7 separate regions of the Homo sapiens genome follow, and all the other regions are linked to region 6. Evidence: promoter capture Hi-C in 16 types of primary human blood cells and fetal thymus (Javierre and others, 2016). All regions are on one chromosome and are shown on one strand. The core of a region is centred on a gene start or on the middle of the fragment in contact, and the rest is flanking DNA. Distances in the headings are between cores, read along the strand shown. Region 1 holds the start of PPP2R2A (protein phosphatase 2 regulatory subunit Balpha). Region 2 holds the start of THAP1 (THAP domain containing 1). Region 3 overlaps DPYSL2 (dihydropyrimidinase like 2). Region 4 overlaps TM2D2 (TM2 domain containing 2). Region 5 overlaps PTK2B (protein tyrosine kinase 2 beta). Region 6 holds the start of TTI2 (TELO2 interacting protein 2). Region 7 overlaps CCDC25 (coiled-coil domain containing 25).

Region 1 (2,905 bases), core at 122-2,621, 7.2 Mb after region 6:
CAGCACGGAAAACTGGTCTCATCTCGGAATGTTTCTATTTCACGTGCAAGTACTGAGGTCGAAATGATTGAAAATGTCCTGGGGCTCTAGGGAGAAAGAAACTGAATCTAAATCTGCAACTGATTCTACTACATGAAGGAAAAGATTTAGCAATACCAACATGTACAAAAAGAATTCTCAAAGCAATTACATTACTTCTCTCTCCCCCATCACCCCTATTCCTTGCTAAATTTATTTCCAAACTGGTTTTCTCTCTACATCCTTTCCCCTCCCCTTCAAAGCTTCTACCTAAATCTCTCTCCTCCTTGCTATTTATATCTCTGAACTCCGCAACTATTTTAACTAACTCTACCAAACCCTTTTGGGAAAAGGACATCTGCAAAAAAGCTAACATGCTAAACGCAAAGTTTAAATTATTTTCATGCAACTTGCTGTACATGAAAGGCCTTGCACTCTTCGGCGGTAAAAGGGAAGAAACGGAAACGAAATGGTTCGAAACAAAAAATTTAGGCTTCCAGTCTCAAAAATATTGGCATCTACAGTGGGGAAAAAATACACATATGCCCCCACTGTATTTTAACTTATAAGGCGCTCTTCCTTCTCGAGGCAAAATAAATGTGTATATACACCCAAGAAGGCTTGCAGCAGGGGGAAAAATAGAAATTAAATGAAGACCTGCAGGAAAAAAAAATAAAGGCGGGGGGCAAGGTGGGGAGGTGGGAGAAGATCCACCAGGCTCCCGAGCGGGAGGGACAAATCTGCACGCACCCCCACCCCGCCCCACCCACGCCTCACCCCAAGCTCGCCGGCACACCCCACCCCCACCCCCGCCACGGCGCCAGCCCCGTTCTCCAAGCCCAGTGACTCTCACCGTGACCACTTGCCTCCCGGGAGCCCTCCCCGCCCCCACCCCACCCCTCTGGACCCTACTCCCTCAAACCCGAGGGGCGCCCTGTGGCTCTGCGCGAGGCGCGGGCGGTCGCTAGGGGGTGATGGAGGGAGGAATAAGGAAGCGGTGCCTTGTCAGGGGGCGAGGGGGATTTCTCCTTTACCTGCCATGTTGCGCTGCAAATGGTGACCCTGCTGGGTTCCTCGGGGTCTCCGCTTCCTGAACTCACCCCCCTCACCTGGGGATGGGGGGGTAGAGAGGGCGGATGGCGGCGGATGGCACCTGCGGGGGGAGGGGACGGGGGCCGGGGGGAAAAGGAAGGAGGGGCGGGCAGACCAGCCGGCAGGATGCTAGATTTCACTCTGGGGCTTCCCCGCTCGTGCTCTTTCTCCGGCAGCGGCGGCGGCGACTACGACAGCGACGGCGGCGGCGGCAGCGGCAGGGGCAGGCGACTCCACTTTCAAAATGGCGCCGGCTGGCCTGGCCAGTGACGTCACCTAGGGGGCGGAGCCGCCGGGCTGGGGCGGAGAGCGGAGGGGGAGGGGCGGGGGAGCGGCCGGGCGGCTCTTGGCCACGCCCCCTTCCTGCTGCGCCTGTGCCCCGCCCTCCGTGTCCCGGCCGGCAGGGCCTGCGCCGCGCCAGCGTCTCGCCATGGCATACCCTCTGTCCGCACCGCCTGCGCCAGGCCGCGGCTGTGTGCACCTAGCAGTGTCCCAGCCTCGAGCACTAGCGCCGGGGCTCTGGGGCGGGCTTAGGAGTCCAGTTTACGTGCTCTCCTGCAAGGATTCATGGGGTCCTATGTCTTCTAGGAATACCTGGGCCGGGCACGGTGGCTCATGCCTGTAATCCCAGCACTTTGGGAGGCTGAGGCGGGCGGATCACAAGGTCAGGAGTTCGAGACCAGCCTGGCCAACATGGTGAAACCCCGTCTCTACTTAAAAATATACAAAAATTAGCCAGGCGTGGTGGTGTGCGCCTGTAATCCTAGCTACTTGGGAGGCTGAGGTGTGAGAATTGCTTGAACCCGGGAGGCAGAGGTTGCAGTGAGCCGAGATCGCACCACTGCACTCCAGCCTGGGTGACAGAGCAAGACTCCGTCTCAAAAACAAAAAACAAACAAACAAAAAACCCCGTACTGCTTCTTAGGAAATTGTCACTTTGGATTAGCCCTGAGACCACAAAGAAAGGGACAGCGGTGCAGACTTACTGCTCAGCCGGGGTGAAAGTTCACGGGGTTCAGAGGGACACGATTGGGCTGGTTCTATCTGGGTGAATTAAATTACCTTCTCGTGGGCCCCAGGATCCAAGGCGGGAGTCCTAGGCACTGCGGACACTAAGAGTGATTTCTAAGAGAAACCTGAGTTTGTGATGAGAGGGTATGGCCCAAGAAGTGACCCGGCGTCTCTCCAGCTAAACGTGTTGGACTGCGTGCTTAAGAGCTGGGCTCAGGGCCGGGCGCGGTGGCTCACGCCTGTAGTCCCAGCACTTTGGGAAGCCGAGGTGGGAGGATCGCTTGAGGCCAGGAGTTCCGAGTTCGGCCTGGAGAACATAGGGAGACCCATCTCTCCAAAAAAAATTTTTTTTTTTAAATTAGCCAGGTATGATGGCGTGCCTATAGTCCCAGCTACTAGAAGGCTGCAGTAGGAGGACTGCTTGAGCCCAGTAGGTCAAGGCTGCAGTGAGCTATGTGATCACATCACTGCACTCCAGCCTGGGAGACAGAATGCGATCCTGTCAAAACAAAAACAAAAACACAAAAAGTGCTGGGCTCTGAAGCCAGGCTGCCTAATATGATTCCAAGGCTCAGGAGATGAAGATGACAGTCCTACCTGATAGGATTGTTGGGGAGATGAAATGACTTAATTTGAGCACATGATAAATGTTAGCTGCCGTTATTATTAGATTTGTATTGAAAGCATCGTCAGTAAGGTTAAGAGGTAGAAGGAAAAAAATGAACAGGAAATGCCAGTCATCAGCTATGAGGGGATGTGCACTTCTGTTGAAAGATGCTCTAAT
Region 2 (2,955 bases), core at 59-2,558, 9.3 Mb before region 6:
CCCCGCCTCCCGGATTCAAGCGATTATCCTGCCTCAGCCTCCAGAGTAGCTGAAATTCGAGGGCATGTGCCACCACACCCGGTTAATTTTTGTATTTTTAGTAGAGACGTTTTCACCATGTTGACCAGGCTAGTCTTGAACTCCTGACCTCAAGTGATCCGCCCGCCTCGGCCTTCCAAAGTGCTGGGATTACAGGCGTGAGGCACTGTGCCCAGCCCAATATTATTATCTTTAAAGCAAAATTAGGAATGCTTCTGTTCTCAAAATATCGGGATATCTGGACACTTGGTAGTCTGGGTCTGTGTAGTAAACATTATCAATCTGTTGCCTTAATGGTATACACATCTAGAGGCTAGGAATACCTAACTTCCCGGGAATGCAGCCCAGCAAGTCCCAGCCTCATTTTCCTAGCCCTCACTCAACACAGAGTCGCTCTAGTTCGAACCCCTCTAACATATTCTCTCTCAGGTGTGAAAATTGCTGCAGCAGTTCGCTATTTGCAACACAGCACATGGAAATCACAGCAATGGAGAGCCTTCAGAAAAGCTTCTGGGGAGGGACAGCCTGGTGGCTCAACTCCTGTAATCCCAACCCATGGGGAGGTCGAGATGGGAGGATCCCTTGAGCTCGAGTTCCAGACTGACCTGGGCAACGTGGGGAGACAACGCCTCTATTTATTTAAAAAATTACATATATATATATATATATACATACACACACACATATATACATACACACATATATACATACATATACATACATATATATAAAACGCTTCTGCGTTGGCAATTGAGATGATTTGGCGAGTGTGTCTTTTTTCATTGCTAAAAATCTGTCACGTTGGCTCTCACAGAAACTTGTGATACCTGAAGACACAGGTAATGGGATAAAGATTAGCACTCTGGGAAAAGGTTCCACAATTTTATTAATCATACACCATCTGTGTCCGCCCTTTTAAAGAAATGGGCGCAATCAGCCAACGACCTCGGCTTTACACCTGTTCTCCAAGAGGCCCTAGTTGTTCCCTACTGTAAGCTGCCCCAGAAAAGGTCCGCATCAATTAACCCACGGGAACAGCCCGGGGCTGGAGGATGCCCCAGGAATCCGGCCTCCCGCCGCGCCTCCTCCCCCCACAAGCAGTTCCTTCCTGCCTGCCGGAAGCTCAGGGCTCCGCCCACTTCGGCAACTCTGAAGCCACCGCCGGAAACACCTGGCCTCAGCCAATAGTTAGCTTCCCAGGAAACGTTACCTCTGACCTCGGGGCTAATCAGAGACAGTGGGACGCACCCCTCGCGAGAGGTGAGGTTGAAGCTGCCTCCGCCATCTTGGAGATGGGAGACGGGCGATGGCTGTGGTCCTTCTGCTAATGCAAACAACAAAACGGGCACACTAGTCACCCCCGAGGGAGGCCACCATCACTGTAACTGTTGGCCAAAGCTACAAAAGAAGCGAGGGAATCCAACCGAGCGCAGCGACACTGAGAACAGCTTCCCCTGCCTTCTGCGGCGGCAGAAGTGAAGTGCCTGAGGACCGGAAGGATGGTGCAGTCCTGCTCCGCCTACGGCTGCAAGAACCGCTACGACAAGGACAAGCCCGTTTCTTTCCACAAGTGAGGACCCTGCGCGCCTCGCGGGGCCGGTCTCAGCCGGGGTGGGGGCGCGCGGCCGGCGGGGCCGGGGGCGGAGCCAGGCGCGTGTCCGCGCGAGGGGCGGGTGGGGTCTGGGGCCGGCCGTGTCGGGCGTTTCCCACCGCGTCCCGCTGGGAACCGCCGCCCGATCGCGCGTTCTCGGCGCGCGTCGCCGCGGCAGCCGTTTCTCGCGCTCCTGGAACAGGCCCTGGTTGCAGGCTTCGCTCACGGCCTGGGTTGACGCGTTCGGAGCCCACGGGCGATGCCTAGGGTGGCGCGGGTTTTGCCACCACCAGGGTCACAGAGCAGCCAGGTGTTTTAATATGGTCTTAGGGGTAAATTTAAAATAGAAACAAAGGCCTTTAAACGAAGAAATCACTACTTTTCGCCCTTGCCGTGGATGGGAGGCCAGCATCGTAGCAATTAAGGGTTTTTTGGCTGGGAAATCAGGGAGAATTTTTGCCCCCAATCTCTAGGAACTAAGCTTTAAGGACCCTGTATTTTGGAGAAAGCTTCAGGTACTGCCGAGATAAATCGTTATCTTTTCAGCACACAATAATGATAATATGGACAGTTACAACATGGATCATAATAAAATGACTCACACGGATCTTTATTTATTATGGCATTACCTGTGCATAGAGAAAGCTCTTTCGAAAGAAACTGCCCCACAGCTTTCAGAGCTGTCTTATCCAGTAGGTAGCACAGTTAAGTGATAGGATCAAAAATATTCTCTTGAAAATAGGAAAAAAGTGCAGAGTTGTAATTACTTATGATAAACGCTTGTAAAATGTGACATAACATTTTCATTCAGCTGAATTTGTTTACAAATTTTAATTACATTTATGTTAAGTTTTCTTTGCAAGAATTCCTGACAGCTATACGCAGATGATAGGTAAGAAATCAGATCCAGGGGTAAACTATACAGATTAGCCATAGGTAATTAGCTAATTATCTTTTATAATTAGGTAAATAATTACAAAAGCAAAATGTTAAATATCTTTTCAGTTAATTTATTTTTTTGCTGTGGGGCCATCTGTGTTTACTAGGGGAGTGTCCATGCATTTTTTAAATATGTTTGATATCATGTGAGATGGACCCTATAGAAATAAGAGTGTGTAGAACATAGAGAGGTCTCCAGAGTAATAATGTTACCCCTTGGAGAAGGGGATAGAACACTTAGAGGATTCAGTTCAGGATATCCTAATATTATCTCTTGATTTAATTGGAATTTCTGTAAACATGTTCTTTCTAAATGTAGGGAAAGGTCAGGTGATGGTAACAGGATTACATGCCCAGCTCCCCACCCACATTTCTGATGGCTTGGC
Region 3 (2,700 bases), core at 55-2,554, 6.9 Mb after region 6:
GCGACTGCACCGCCGGCCGGCGCCGCGCAGCCCGGGAGGGCTCCCGGGCCCTCCTCCCCCGCCGTTGCTGGCGCTGAACTCGCCTGGCCCCCGCCCTGGCGCGGCTGAGGACTGGAACGGCGGCGGGCGGGAACCCGGCGGGGAGGGCCCGGCCACGCCCGGCCCCGGAGAGGGCGGCTGCTTCCCGGGAGCGTCCGGGCCCGGCTCCTGGGGGCGGGGAATGGGCGCGGGCCGGGGGGAGGCTGCAGAGACGGGATCTGGCCCGCGTGGAGGCGCCGGGCTGCAGGAAATGAGAGCCCTGAGGAAACCCTTCCAACTCCGAGCCGGGAAGGAGGCATCCGGGGAAGGCTGCGGGGTATGGGAAACCCCGCCCTGAAACATCCTTTTGTGCCTTCCGGCCGCGAGGAACTTAGTAGGGCGGAGGAATGGGGAGCAGCCGCAGCCCGCCGAGGCCGATGTGGCGCGATCTGCGCTCTGTGCGCCCGCTTTACAGTCACGCCCACCTCGGCTCCCTGAGGGGTGCGTGGGGGCGCAGCGCATTTCGCTGGTGCCTGCAGCGCTGTCGGGGGCAGCTGCTGCGATCCCAGCGCCCCGGGGTCCTGAGGGTTTACAGTGCCAGTGGATGGGACCCACACCGCACCGTGGGGCGGAGAGGAGGAGATGAGCTGTGGAGGAGCAAGAAAGGAAGAGTTTATATCCCACAGGAAAGGGAAACTGAGTCTTGGGGAAAACCTACTGAATCGGAGTTAAAATCAAGAGTGTCCTGACTGCCCAGGCAGAGCCTTGTCACTTCAAACGGCACTCAAGGCCCCTTCGTGGTCCTAGCAATTGAGCAGGCCTGGGACCCCTTAGCTTTGCCTGTCCAAGCCATGCTGGGATGCTCTAACTTCAGGGTCCGTGGGAAAGAAAAACGCTGATCCAGTTGATCCTCAGGAATCTACCGAGGCCAACCCCCGTGGGAGGTTGCCCTGGCAGGTACAATAACTAAAACATCTGGACCAGCCCTCGTAGCGCTCGGGCTTCTCTGCTTGAGGTCGAAGGATACATAGAATCCCTACGTAATCATGGGCTGGGGGGTGGGGGAAGAAAGAGTATGTAATTGGCTCACACCTGCTCAGCAAAGCTTAGCTAGATAAATACGGAATAATTCGAGCTGCTGTGGGCCTGACTTCCAATCTTTCTGCCCTTCACCACCTTAGCCACTTTAGGGGAATGTCTGTCCTTCCAGACTCAGAGAAGGTGTAAAATTCTCCTTTTCACTCCTATATCTCTAAAAATCTGAAGTCCCAGAAAGTAGCCGTAGGGCACGCACAAAGTTTCACCGATGGTTAATTCATCCAAGTTCAATTTAGCTGTGCATCTGAAAGAGAAAGTGAAGCACTTCCCCCTCCAGCAATCTGATATGCCGCAAGCAAGGTGAGATGATGTCGGCAAGTATTGCTGTCAACCGGTAATGGTTAAAGTCACGAGTCTGAGAAAGCTTAAAATACGCCTTTCTACTTGGCCTCTCTCTACTTGTGAAAAACCAACAGTCAGTCCCAGCTTTGCGGAGGACAGGGCAGTGGAGAGGAGTGTCCTATTAGCTCACAAAAAAACTACTTGGCAAGGGAGTAAATAAAGAGACTCAAATTAATTTAAAACAAAGTAACCTATAATTATATTGTTTGTATTCTTGTTGTATTCCCTACCCCCGTCCCTGTTGTTTGAGCGTAATGGGTTTAAATATATCTTGTTATTTACCAGTTTACCATAGAATCGTTTGTTTTGTAATAAAAGCTTCCAAGAGCTTGTGTCTGTCTCATTGGCTTCAATTGTATAGCCATTGCTATGAGGTTCTTAGTCCATAATAACTGACGTTTCCACTCGTAAATATCCAAAAATGTAAGGTATAAACTGATTTGTCTGTTCTGACTAGAGCCTAAGAGAGTATTTGGCACATAAAAGATACCAAACAAATGGTTTAAATTGACCGAGGAAGAGAACTGTCTGCAACCTGCATTTCTTACCATATTTACCATTCAGCGCAATGAGGAAAAGTAAAAAAGGGCCGAGGAGAATCTTCCACCTGCTTTGCACTGATGAAGGTGAAAAAAAAAACAAAAAACCACAGGTAAACAGGCCTCACACTTTTACTTCAGAGATCCTTGTAAAAATAAATGAGAGGCTGGGCACAGTGGCTCACACCTGTAATCCCGCACTTTGGGATGCCAAGGCAGGCAGATCAGTTGAGCCCAAGAGTTGGAGACCAGCCTCAGCAACATGGAGAAACCCCGTCTCTACAAAAAATACAAATATTAGAGACTAGGCTGGCCAACATGGTGAAACCCCGTCTGCACTAAAAATGCAAAAATCAGACGGGCATGGTGGCTGGGGCCGGTAATCCCAGCCATTCGGGAGGCTGAGGCAGGAGAATCACTTGAATCCGGGAGGCGGAGGTTGCAGTGAGCCAAGATAGCGCCACTGCACTTCAGCCTGGGCAACAAGAGCGAAACTCCATCTCAAAAAAACAAAAACAAACAAAATAAATTAGCTGAGTGTGGTGGTGGGCACCTGTGGTCCCAGCTACTGGGGGCAGGGGAAGGTTGGGGCTGAGGCAGAAAGATCAGTTGAGGCTGGGAGGCTGAGGCTGTAATAAGCCATGATCGTGCCACTGCACTCCAGCTTGGGTGACAGAGTGAGACCTTGTCTAAATAAATAAAT
Region 4 (2,700 bases), core at 108-2,607, 5.5 Mb before region 6:
GAGGTTATTCAAACTAGCCAGTTCTAAACTATTCGCCCTGCCCTGTCTTGCCTTTCCTGCAGAAACCCCAATGAAGATAGTGGCCAAAAACCTTCCCCTCCCTTCTATCTTCCAACCACCCTGGTATCTTTGCCAGGTAGCCTTGTATAACATGATGTGCCTCCTGTCTCTGGGACCTATGAGTATAATAAACTTTGGTTTTTCCTGATCCTCTCACCTCACTGACCATATCATAAAAGAAAACAAAATGGAGGGTAAAAGGCCACAGAGGGTCCACTGCACTGTCTCATCACTTACGTTAAATTCACTAATCCTTAAGGGTTTAAATTTTCGTGCAGTAAAACATCTTCCTTTTCATTCCTTTCACCTAGGTATACCGGACACTACTTCATAACCACTTTACTCTACTCCTTCTTCCTGGGATGTTTTGGTGTGGATCGATTCTGTTTGGGACACACTGGCACTGCAGTAGGGAAGCTGTTGACGCTTGGAGGACTTGGGATTTGGTGGTTTGTTGACCTTATTTTGCTAATTACTGGAGGGCTGATGCCAAGTGATGGCAGCAACTGGTGCACTGTTTACTAAGAAGAGCTGCCATCATGGCCCAGGGAGGCGGGTGAAAGCTCCGTCTTCTGAATTCATCTCTACAGGCTCAAAACTCCTCTTTGATATCAGACCTGATGTTATTTTCCTTCTTTTGGAGGGCATTTGTTTGGTTAAGAAGGCTTCTTTGGACTTTGGAATTTCAACCCAGATTTTACCTTGCAGACGGAATGACAAGCAAAAAGTGTTGTGGGGAATCAAATTTGTTCCTTTCCTCATGCACAAAACATAAAGGATAGTGGCGAGTTTACAAGCTGTGGATGGGTTTCCATAGTCTTCCTTTCTGTACATTGCTATATCTTCAGTCCTTTGGAGCAAGTGGACCTAACAAGTTGAGCAAAATGAATATTTGGATCCATGTTCCTCTTGTGACCCTGAGTCTTCATGCAAGGAGATCTGAAGCTGAACAATGAAAATCTTCAGCAGAAATAGAAATGGCCGTGGATTGTAATACACACTGAAATTCTGACTTTCTGAATTTAAATGTAGAATAAATTTTACCAACTTGGAGTACTGTATGAGTATTTTCAGTAGGGGGAATAAACTCAAAATTATATTTGTTTTGCAGAAACCTAGTCATTTGAAATGAGCCATCCTATTAAGCCCTCTTTTGTCTCCATTATGTTCCAGAGGCAGTATATGCAGTGCAATAATTTTTTCATTCCACTTATGTTTTGAAAGCCAGCGGCATCAGATGTGTGAGTTGAGCTATTCCTCCTGGCAGAATTGTCCAATCTAAAAATCAGCGTTTACCAGCCCATGCTAATAAAATTAAGATTTCATACAAGTTTCTGTAAAACTATTCTTCATGATTAGCTCTCCCTGTGGGCTGCAGCAGTCAGAAAGAGATAACAGCCACACCTCTGCATTCCCCGGTCACCAGGAATAAAAGGAAATGTTCCAGATTGTAAGTGGTTTTAAAAACTCAGTTCTCATCGTTTGCAATCTAAGTTGAAAGAACTATTAAATATAAAATCAAAGGTGGGCAATGTGGCCAAGTCAATGGAAGAGGCTTTACTCAGAATAACTTACAAATTCTAGAAACAAGGTAGAACTCACTCAGTTTACCTAATAATAATTGAATTTAAGACCAAATATCACAGTTGAAATAACTTCCCTGGATACATTCTATCATTTTGTAGCTTTCCTAAGAATTTCTTGCTTTATCATTCCTGATTAATCACTGTTTTTACATTATTAAAGGTGGCAATTTTCTGTAAAAAATTTAAAACAGATGATCCTATTCTGTCTTGAAAGTTCTGTACCACACTGACCTTAACCTTGCTTATAACATAACAATTGGTAAACTTTTAATTCATAATCTTTATACCCTAAGATAGTATTTATTAAATTTTTATGGGTCATGAAGAAACTAGACCCTCTCCCCAGAAAAATCTACATACACAGAATTTACATAGAACTTGGGTTCATCTACACAATTTATGCATGAAATAAAATTGTACTGGTACCCTATAAATTTATACAAATAAAAGAGTTTAAGGGAGTTCAAGGATGCCATATGTATATTTTAAAAAAATTTCTAAGGGAAGTCTAAAAAACATAAATTATAATATTACCCAAAATAAGATGCTACTTTTCACCTAACCAAGTCCTGCCTCATTTCACACTTTAACCTCCTAAGTATATTCATAACCCTACCAAAAGTTGTTTTCTTTAAAAAATAAGAAACTTTAGGGCCAGCGCAATGGTGCAAGCCTGTAATCCCTGCACTTTGGGAGGCCGAGGCAGGTGAATCCTTTAAGGTCAGGAGTTCGAGACCAGCCTGGCCAACATGGTGAGACACACTCCCCCACCCCCGCCCAGTCTCTAGTAAAAATGCAAAAATTAGCCGGGCGTGGTGGCGTGCACCTGTAATCCCAGCTACTCGGGAGGCTGAGGTAAGAGAATCACTTGAACTGAGGAGGCAGAGATTGCAGTGAGCCGAGATCCTGCCACTGCACTTCAGCCTGGGCAACAGAGTGAGACTCTGACCAAAAAAGAAATTTTGCAGCTCCAAGGCTTGAAGTCATTTATGTTGCCAGGGGTAAGAGCTTGGTTGAAGGGCTAAAAGACTAGAAACTACTGAAGATGCCCTTC
Region 5 (2,700 bases), core at 193-2,692, 6.2 Mb after region 6:
AGAGGTGACACTGCCGCACCTACTGAACCTCATTTCCACCCAGCGGTTCAAGATTTCGCATGGGAGTGGTTCTAGATTTCGCATGGGAGCAGTTCTAGATTTCGTGTGGGAGCAGTTCTAGATTTCGTGTGGGAGAAGTTCTAGATTTCACGTGGGAACAGTTCTAGATTTTGCATGGTAACGGCTCTTTGCCTGCATCTGTCTCTCAGAGACAGGCTCCCGAGGCTGGGTCCCTCCTGTCACTGCTGGAAGGGGAGGCTGCTACAAAGGGGGTTTGGCAAGGCCAGAGGGCCCCAAGGAAGTCTTGGTGGGGGGAAAGAAAACACTGCTGGGGTCAGGGTGAAGGTGGGGGTGGGGTGTTGCTTTGCTAAAGGCCCACAGGTGTTGGGAAGGAGGATGAGTAGTGTCAGAGGAGCAGAGAACCCTGCTCCCCACAGTCATCTCTCAGCAAAAACAGAACACCTCCCCTAGGTGAGAAATTCATCCCAACAGTAAATCCCTAGGTCAACGACTTTAGAAACCCTTAGCCCTTCTCCATTGGGCTAGAAGAGCCACAGTGTGGGGGTGCTAACACTGAAACTCTGGGTCTCACCAGCATAAGGAAATGACACATACCTGCCATGCCGATAGGGCCTGCCTGTGAGTCACGCCCAGGAAGTGGAGAGGGGAGGACAGGTCAGCCTAGGGGAGAGAGAAGGGGAGGCCCCGGAAAGTGCAGGCTCCTGGTGCTGCCCTGAGGCTCTAACTTTTCAACTCAAGCCCTGCCTCCAGGATGATGAACTGGGTCAGCAAAATGACAGGAGGCTCAGGGCCAGACCTGGATTAGAGCAGGCCTGCCCAGACAGGTCAGCGATTTGTGTCCATAAAAGGAAGATCCAAGGGAAACAGGGCCTGCCCTTGTCACCCACAGACCCAGTCAGGTTGGTTAGTAAACATCAGACAGGGCACGATCGGTGCATCACCTTTGAACACATAGAGTGTGCTTGTCTGGCACACGGGGCAGGGCTGACTGAAATGATGACTAGGAGGATGAGAAAAATTCCTGAGGGAGGCTGTCTGCATCATCGGGGTTATCAGTGAAGAGCAGTGTGTGGGTGTGGAGCGGAGCAGGGGGGCGGATAGACTTCACAGCCTAGTCCATCCACATACAGAGGACCCCAGGACTGTACTTCATTGAGAGCACCAGAAAAGCAGGCAGTGGGCCTCAGCCACAACCACCACCCCTGGGGAGACCACCTGGGATACCAGAAAGAGAAGGGCCCTCCAGCTCCCTTAGTATGACCTAATTTTACAGAGAAGGTGCCTGGAGCCCATAAGCCCCCTATCCAAGGTCCCTCCCTGAAGTCAGAGGGAGAGCTGGGGCCATTTTCCCACCCTGCCCAGTCCAGGGCTCGCTCTTTCCTTTAAAGAGCCAAATCCAGGCCGGCTGCGGTGGCTCATGCCTGTAATCCCAGCACTTTGGGAGGCTAAAGTGGGAGCATCGCTTGAGGCCAGGAGTTCAAGAACAGCTGGAGCAACAAAGTGAGACCCCCATCTGTACAAAAAGTAAAATAAAAAATTAGCCAGGCATGGTGGTGCATGCCTGTGGTCCCAGCTACTCGGGAGGCTAAGATGGGAGGATCACCTGAGCCCAGGAGTTCGAGGCTGTAGTGAGCTATGATTGCACCACTGCACTCCAGCCTGGGCAACAGAGCAAGACCCTATATCAAATAAACAAACAAAAAGGAAACAAAAAAGAAATAAAAAGCTAAATCTGGAGCTAAATAATTTGTACATATGGACATAGAGTGTGGAATAATAGACATTGGAGACTCAGGAGGGTGGGAAGGGGGTGAGGGATAGGAAATTATTTAATGGGTACAATAAACAGTATTCGGGTGATGGTTGCACTACAAGCCCAGACTTTACTACTATGCAATGTATCCCATGTAACAAAATCACTCTCACTTGTACCCCTTAACTTCATATCAACAAAAAGCACAAATCCTATGTTTCTTTCTTTCCTGGGACCCAGACATCACCCCACTGACCATTTCGAAAGACCGACACGTTTTATTTCGAGAATAATTGGGGGCCCTTCCTGGTTGTCATCTGGAAGGAGAAGAAATCCCCACATCTAGACCCAGAGGGCGAGAGAAATGCAGTTTTGGCTTTTTCTCCCCATCTTGCTAGTGAAAAGATCCCAGGTGAAATGTTTGCACAGAAGTCTTTCACATCCTTTTTTGAAAGTTCACAGAATATACGTGTCATTTGGTAGTTCACAGTGTATTGGGGCATCGTACCCCAGGAAATCCTGCCCTCTCACCCACCCCCACCCCTTTATGATTGCATCGCCATGGGGTTCTGCCACCGGTTCAGGAGCCAGCTAGCTCACAAGTCACATTGGCTTCCATGGTGGAGGAACGGGGCTGGAAGGAGGGAGGGACCTGGAAGGAGGAAGGGCACCAGAAACACTGAATGCTCTTGGGCTGTCCTCTGGCCTCTGTGACAGCTCCCTGTCTCTATCCCTCCCTGACCCCTGCCCAGGCCAGGCCTCCTCTGAGCATCAGCCGTCTCCCATCAGCATCAGCATGACTTTCCTTCTCTGCGGCGCTTGCCGGCATCGCGCATGGATTCCTTGGGCTGTCTGATTCCAGCCCATCTCCCATTCTGGGTGTTAAGTTCTGGGAGCTCAGGGAGGACTGTGTCTCTTTATGCGTC
Region 6 (2,732 bases), core at 3-2,502:
CCCGACGACCCACCTCCCTCAGGGCTGCCCCAGACGCCAGCTGGGGGCTTCTACCTTGACGCTAGAATTTGAATTTTCAAACGCTTGTGGCTACAGGCTTTAAAACGCTAGCTCCAGAAACCAGCTAAAGTATTGCATTGAACAGAAAACCAAATACCGCATGCTCTCATTCATAAGTGGGAGCTAAACATTAGGAACACGTGGACATAAAAGTGGCAACAACAGACACTGTGGTCTACTAGAGGGGGCAATGAAAACGGGCTAAGCTGCACTCCAAATCCCAGCATCCCACAACATATCCAGGTAACAAACCTGCGCAGGTATCTCCCAAACCTAAAAAATTAAAGCCATTAAAAAGCTCTGCATTGGCCAGGCGCGGTGGCTCACGCCTGTAATCCCAGCCCTTTGGGAGGCCGAGGCGGGCGCATCACGAGGTCAAGAGATCGAGACCATCCTTGCCAATATTTATACAAAAATTAGCTGGGCGTGGTGGCGCGCGCCTATAGTCCCAGCTACTCGGGAGGCTGAGGTAGGACAATCTCTCGAAAACCGGAGGTGGGGGTTGCAGTGAGCCGAGATCGCAACACTGCAACTCCAGCCTGGCGACAACGCGAGACTCCGACTCACAAAAGAACAAACACAAAAACACATTACACAGTTGGACAACGGAAAAGCACCCGTGCGTGTAGCATACAGCCAGAAAAAAGGGCACCCGAAAACGGTAAACACAAAGCCATGAAACTAGGCCACCTGTTATCATAAGTAACAAGCCCACAAATACAAGTGTTAAATCGATCCTTGAAGTTCAGGTCAGACGGGTAATGTGCCCACGTCGTAACAAGGTTCAAGGGTGGCACATCTCACACAAGCGTATGAACACCCAATCATCACGCTCATGAACTACAAAAGGATCATCTTATAGTTGACATTAAGGAGTGCCAAGTATGTGCCACTAATTTACACATAGGGTGACTACCGTAATGCGATACATCCATTCTTCACGTATAAAATCCTGGATATTTTCAAAGTCCCACTGAGATTCTGTGATTATTCTTTTGTTTCTACCTTAGCAAAGGAAAACAGAAACACAATTAGCGAGCGGATTATTATATATGCAAATTTATTCTCTATAGTTCCACCTCTCCGTCATTTTCCCGAGCCTGGATCTTTATTGCTTTACGACCATACGTCGTGAAATAAGAAGGTGTTGCGGCAGTACTGGCGGAAGCTAGCCTTGCGTTTTGCGGCAGCAATATGAGCTAGGTCCGGATCCTGTTAGACACCGGCGGGCGCGAGCCGTTGCAGGTACCTGGGGGTGGTTAAGTTGGTGACATGGCTCAGAAGTTTATTTCTTTAAATTTTTAAGTTTTTTTTCTTTTTAGTCTTCAGAAAGGCAACAGTAGTCTTTTAACGTCACTGTTAAAAGTGTAAGACTCTTTTACTCCCTGAGAGTCCCCTTTCCCTTTCTTGCGTCCTTTCCTCTTTATTCTTTTTTTTTTTTTTTTTTTTACTGAGACGGAGTCTCACTCTGTCGCCCAGGCTGGAGTGCAGTGGCGCGATCTCGGCTCACTGCAAACTCCGCCTCCCGGGTTCACCCTTTCTCTTTATTCTTATCCCGGTCAGACTCGCCCCCTCCTCCAAGACATCTCTCTGTTTTATTTTATTTGATTTTAGTTCTCTTTGGGTGATCGCTCCTTCCCTCTTCAACGGATCCCTCCCCGCCTCCATCCTCGTTCTGTGGGAGAGACCAGCCTTCTGGTGCTGCAGTCAGGAATGGAGCTTGACAGCGCTCTGGAAGCCCCATCGCAGGAAGACTCTAATTTGTCCGAGGAGTTGTCTCACTCCGCCTTTGGACAGGCCTTCTCCAAGATTTTACACTGTCTTGCCCGCCCGGAGGCACGACGAGGCAATGTAAAAGATGCAGTTCTTAAAGACCTCGGTGATCTAATAGAAGCCACAGAATTTGATAGGTTATTTGAGGGGACTGGTGCACGGCTCCGCGGAATGCCGGAGACACTGGGGCAGGTAGCAAAAGCCCTGGAGAAGTATGCAGCCCCCTCCAAGGAGGAGGAAGGTGGAGGTGATGGGCACTCCGAAGCGGCCGAGAAAGCAGCCCAAGTTGGGTTACTGTTTCTTAAACTGTTAGGGAAAGTTGAGACTGCTAAGAATTCCCTGGTCGGCCCTGCATGGCAGACGGGCCTGCATCACTTGGCAGGACCCGTTTATATTTTTGCCATCACACACAGCTTGGAGCAACCATGGACCACTCCGAGATCTCGGGAAGTTGCTAGGGAGGTGCTCACCTCACTGCTTCAAGTTACTGAATGCGGTTCTGTGGCAGGATTCCTACATGGAGAAAATGAAGATGAGAAAGGGAGACTTTCGGTGATACTAGGGCTTCTCAAACCCGACTTGTATAAGTGAGTACTCCTGCCCTTTGCCACCGACTTGAGCCTCACAGTTTTTTATTTTTATTTTTTATTATTTATTTATTTTCGAGACAGAGTTTCACTCTTGTTGCCCAGGGTGGAGTGCAATGTTGCGATCTCAGCTCACTGCAACCTCCGCCTCCTGGGTTCAAGCGATTCTCCTGTGTCAGCCTTCGGAGTAGCTGGGATTACAGTTGCCCGTCACCACGCCTGGCTGATTTTTTGTATTTTTAGTAGAGACGGGGTTTCACCATGTTGGCCAGGCTGGTCTTGAACTCTTGACCTCAAGTGATCCACCCGCCT
Region 7 (2,870 bases), core at 53-2,552, 5.7 Mb after region 6:
TAAACTTGGCGATGCACACATTCTTTCAAGGTACTTTTCTCAACTACTTCTGGACTTCAGTTATTATAAATGTTAAACAAAGGAATTAGTTTTCTCTCCCCCGAGAAAGGCAACTAGGATTGATCATTTAAGAAGCTTCTCATTACTGAAAGTACAGGGCATCTCTCTGATATAAGGCTTTTTAATTTAGGAGAGCGTATTGCCCTTTGTCCTTCAGGGCTCCAGGTACATGTGTGTGTTCTGTGCTGTGGAGTGATAGCCAGCAGGCTGTTCAGCCCAACCCTGCACTTATCAGTACTTTGCTTCAGTGTGTATTTATTTTTCAGTACTTCTCCATCACAGGCTTTGTAGCCTGAGGGCCCAGTGTCTATGAATTCAGGAGTTTAGTCCAATTGGATCAAACAAGTTTTGGTAAACTAGCTTTGAAACCTGGCACTCAGTTATCCTTTCAGTAGGAATCCAAGGTAGGGACGTCTGCAATAAAACACCACCTTGGTAAAGCAAATATCATTTCTAGGATAAACCATACCCAGAAGATTCCATTTGAGTTAGGATAGTTGTTTCTAACCCTGACCTTATATTAGAATCACTTGGAAGGCTTTTAGAAAACACAGATGCTCACTCTTGCCCACCAGAGATTTGGATTGAGTTGATCTGAGGTGGAGCTGGGGCATAATTAGATGATTCTAATGTAGATCAGGGGTCAGAGTCACTGGTTTAGAAGTTGGAGAGTCATGGTCTCCCTGAATGTGATAGAGAGCCTGTTAGAATATGCAGCACACCTGGAATATGGGTAATATTGGCTAAAAACAATTATGCACAATAAAACTTTGGTAAACATGGGAACTTAGTTGTGGTGTTTAGTTTTCTTTTCTTTTCTTTTTTTTTTAACTCTTAAAGAAGGCAAAAGTATAGGACTGGACTGGCGATACCATTGAACTGTAACCCTGAGAAAGTAGGAAAGTAGCTATTAGTAAGGATGGTAAACTTTCTCTTTTGGGGCCAGATAGTAAATATTTTAGGCTTTGTGAGTCACCTACAATCTCCGTGGCTTATTCTTCTTTGTTTTGCTTTTTTTCCAACCCTTTAAAAACGTAAAAACCATTCTTAGCTCAAGGGCTGTCCAAAAACAGGTGGTAGGCTGGATTTGGATCATGGGCCATGGTTTGCCAGCCCCTAGTCTAAGAATTGTCACTTGTTTTTCACATGAAACAATTTTGTTGGTGATGAAGTTACTAATTGTTTTTTATTTTTGTTTTATCTTAGTTAATTCATCTGCCTACACTATTTACATGGGAAAAGATAAATATGAAAGTAAGTTTTCAAAAGCATTTGATTTTGAAATTTTCAGCAGGTAAGTGTTATCTCTCACTCACCACCTTCCATGCCCCCCACCCAGTTTGTTGGTTCTGAGTTTTCACCTACTTTGATAAACTAGCTTTTGAGAAACAGAACAAGCTCACATAGGGAGACAGCAGCACCTCCTAAGCTACATAAGAAAAATGCTTTAACTATCAATGTTACTTGTGATGATTTATGGGTTAGTAGGAGAAATGTAAAACTCAAGTGTTAATATGCTGCAGACTGCTTCACCATTAAATCACACCCAAAGTTAATGTCACAACTTTATTATCATGAAAAAGTACTAAGGTCTATTTTTTAAAAAGTATAGACAAAATGAAGTAACATGAATAGTAAATGCTGTCGAAGTAGACAGATCAGAGATAGTAAATGTGATTGAAAGCTGAGAAGGCTTTGTGGAGGAGTGGGTTAGGATGGACTAGATTGTGGAATCCTTTGAATGTCTATTGTAGGAATATATAGATACAAATCTAGATACATAATTTATGTCACAGATATAAATTTAGATGATATTTTTAGAGCCCTCTGGAGTGGCATTTTGCTGTCATTAAAAACCTTTGTAGAAAAAAACGTAAGAGGCCAGGCATGGTGGTTCACGCCTGTAATCCCAACACTTTGACAGGCTGAGGCGAGAGGATCACTTGAGCCCAGGAGTTCGAGACCTGCCTGAGCAACATAGGGAGACCCTGTCTCTACAAAAAACAACAATAAAAGAAAATATTAGCTGGGCATAGTGACACACACCTGTTGTCCTTGCTACTCTGGAGGCTGAGGCAGGAAGATCGCTTGAGCCTGGGAGGTAGGCTGCAGTGAGCTGTGATCATGCCACTGCATTCCAGCTTAAGAGACAGCGAGAATCTGTTGTCTGAAGTAAGTGAATGTATGTATGTATGGAACACTTTTTCCCTGGGAACTCTTAGAGTCATTTGGAGGTATCAACTTTTCCTAGGTTGCCTTGTAAGAACGGACATTACTTCTCTAAATCACCCCATTGTCTGGCATTCCTAGCCCATTACATTTATTTCTAATAGTGTTTATGACTTCAGACCAAGAACTCGATAGAAACATCAATTTAAGTGGAATGATTTACTTTCACTGAAAAGCTTTCAGGTCTGTTCTTTTTATCAGCCAGCAGGTGTCATCAGGGAGCCAAACTTTGCCTGACTGAGGGAAAGAGATTTTTTAAATTTCTCTTTCCTTTTTTTGCTTACCTTTTGGCTATTTGCTCAGTCCTACTTAAAGCATTAGAAAGCCTTTCAGAAAACTCATAGTGTCTACGACTGTTATGAGTGCCTTTACCCAAGATGTGTCTTCCTTTTGCTTTTCCTTTTCTGGATGGTAAATACCCCATTCAAATTATATAGACCATACTTTCTTGGGTACATTTTAAATCATCACATATGAATCATTCACAATTTATTTATTTATTTATTTATTTGAGACAGTTTCCCACTCTGTCACCCAGGCTGGAGTGCAGTGGCGTGATTTCAGCTCACTGCAACCTTCAC

What was found. The method cuts DNA at HindIII sites, captures the fragments that hold promoters and counts their contacts. A CHiCAGO score of 5 or more calls a contact.
Region 1: the fragment with the promoter of PPP2R2A here is called in contact with the fragment with the promoter of TTI2 in region 6 in 1 of 17 cell types (total CD4 T cells); the score reaches 5.7 in total CD4 T cells.
Region 2: the fragment with the promoter of THAP1 here is called in contact with the fragment with the promoter of TTI2 in region 6 in 1 of 17 cell types (naive CD8 T cells); the score reaches 7.0 in naive CD8 T cells.
Region 3: a contact is called between a fragment that was not itself captured here and the fragment with the promoter of TTI2 in region 6, in 1 of 17 cell types (total CD4 T cells). The highest score is 10.5, in total CD4 T cells.
Region 4: a contact is called between a fragment that was not itself captured here and the fragment with the promoter of TTI2 in region 6, in 1 of 17 cell types (M0 macrophages). The highest score is 7.0, in M0 macrophages.
Region 5: a contact is called between a fragment that was not itself captured here and the fragment with the promoter of TTI2 in region 6, in 1 of 17 cell types (naive CD8 T cells). The highest score is 7.9, in naive CD8 T cells.
Region 7: a contact is called between a fragment that was not itself captured here and the fragment with the promoter of TTI2 in region 6, in 1 of 17 cell types (non-activated CD4 T cells). The highest score is 5.5, in non-activated CD4 T cells.

The regions. Positions count from the first base shown.
Region 1 is chr8:26,289,974-26,292,878 of GRCh38, reverse strand. PPP2R2A (protein phosphatase 2 regulatory subunit Balpha) reads right to left here and starts at 1,371. Exons shown (of 10, transcript NM_002717.4): 1 at 1,053-1,371. The coding sequence starts at 1,059. RefSeq lists a silencer at 1,220-1,569. The HindIII fragment of the contact is 3,300 bases long and covers 284-2,905 here.
Region 2 is chr8:42,841,678-42,844,632 of GRCh38, reverse strand. THAP1 (THAP domain containing 1) reads left to right here and starts at 1,308. Exons shown (of 3, transcript NM_018105.3): 1 at 1,308-1,609. The coding sequence starts at 1,539. LOC124901940 (a long non-coding RNA gene) reads right to left here and starts at 1,699. Exons shown (of 2, transcript XR_007060901.1): 1 at 1,250-1,699; 2 at 1-866. RefSeq lists enhancers at 1,230-1,589, 925-1,715 and a silencer at 1,620-1,709. The HindIII fragment of the contact is 1,565 bases long and covers 549-2,113 here.
Region 3 is chr8:26,574,751-26,577,450 of GRCh38, reverse strand. All of the region lies in intron 1 of DPYSL2 (dihydropyrimidinase like 2), which reads right to left. Among named protein-coding and RNA genes, the nearest start is that of DPYSL2, 62 kb to the right of the region's middle. RefSeq lists silencers at 1-324, 365-564 and enhancers at 1-368, 369-1,066, 1,165-1,334. The HindIII fragment of the contact is 357 bases long and covers 1,126-1,482 here.
Region 4 is chr8:38,989,217-38,991,916 of GRCh38, reverse strand. TM2D2 (TM2 domain containing 2) reads left to right here. Exons shown (of 4, transcript NM_078473.3): 4 at 372-2,700. The coding sequence ends at 585. Among named protein-coding and RNA genes, the nearest start is that of TM2D2, 5.9 kb to the left of the region's middle. The HindIII fragment of the contact is 6,930 bases long and covers 1-2,700 here.
Region 5 is chr8:27,360,244-27,362,943 of GRCh38, reverse strand. The region is part of intron 1 of PTK2B (protein tyrosine kinase 2 beta); the gene reads right to left. Among named protein-coding and RNA genes, the nearest start is that of PTK2B, 36 kb to the right of the region's middle. RefSeq lists enhancers at 287-817, 770-879, 1,200-1,359. The HindIII fragment of the contact is 3,430 bases long and covers 1-2,700 here.
Region 6 is chr8:33,511,655-33,514,386 of GRCh38, reverse strand. It overlaps TTI2 (TELO2 interacting protein 2), which reads left to right and starts at 1,252. Exons shown (of 8, transcript NM_001102401.4): 1 at 1,252-1,305; 2 at 1,675-2,420. The coding sequence starts at 1,774. SNORD13 (small nucleolar RNA, C/D box 13) reads right to left here and starts at 912; the gene lies at 809-912. RefSeq lists a silencer at 601-650 and an enhancer at 1,081-1,220. The HindIII fragment of the contact is 19,476 bases long and covers 1-2,732 here.
Region 7 is chr8:27,763,648-27,766,517 of GRCh38, reverse strand. It overlaps CCDC25 (coiled-coil domain containing 25), which reads left to right. Exons shown (of 9, transcript NM_018246.3): 2 at 1,267-1,314. Among named protein-coding and RNA genes, the nearest start is that of CCDC25, 7.6 kb to the left of the region's middle. The HindIII fragment of the contact is 2,330 bases long and covers 138-2,467 here.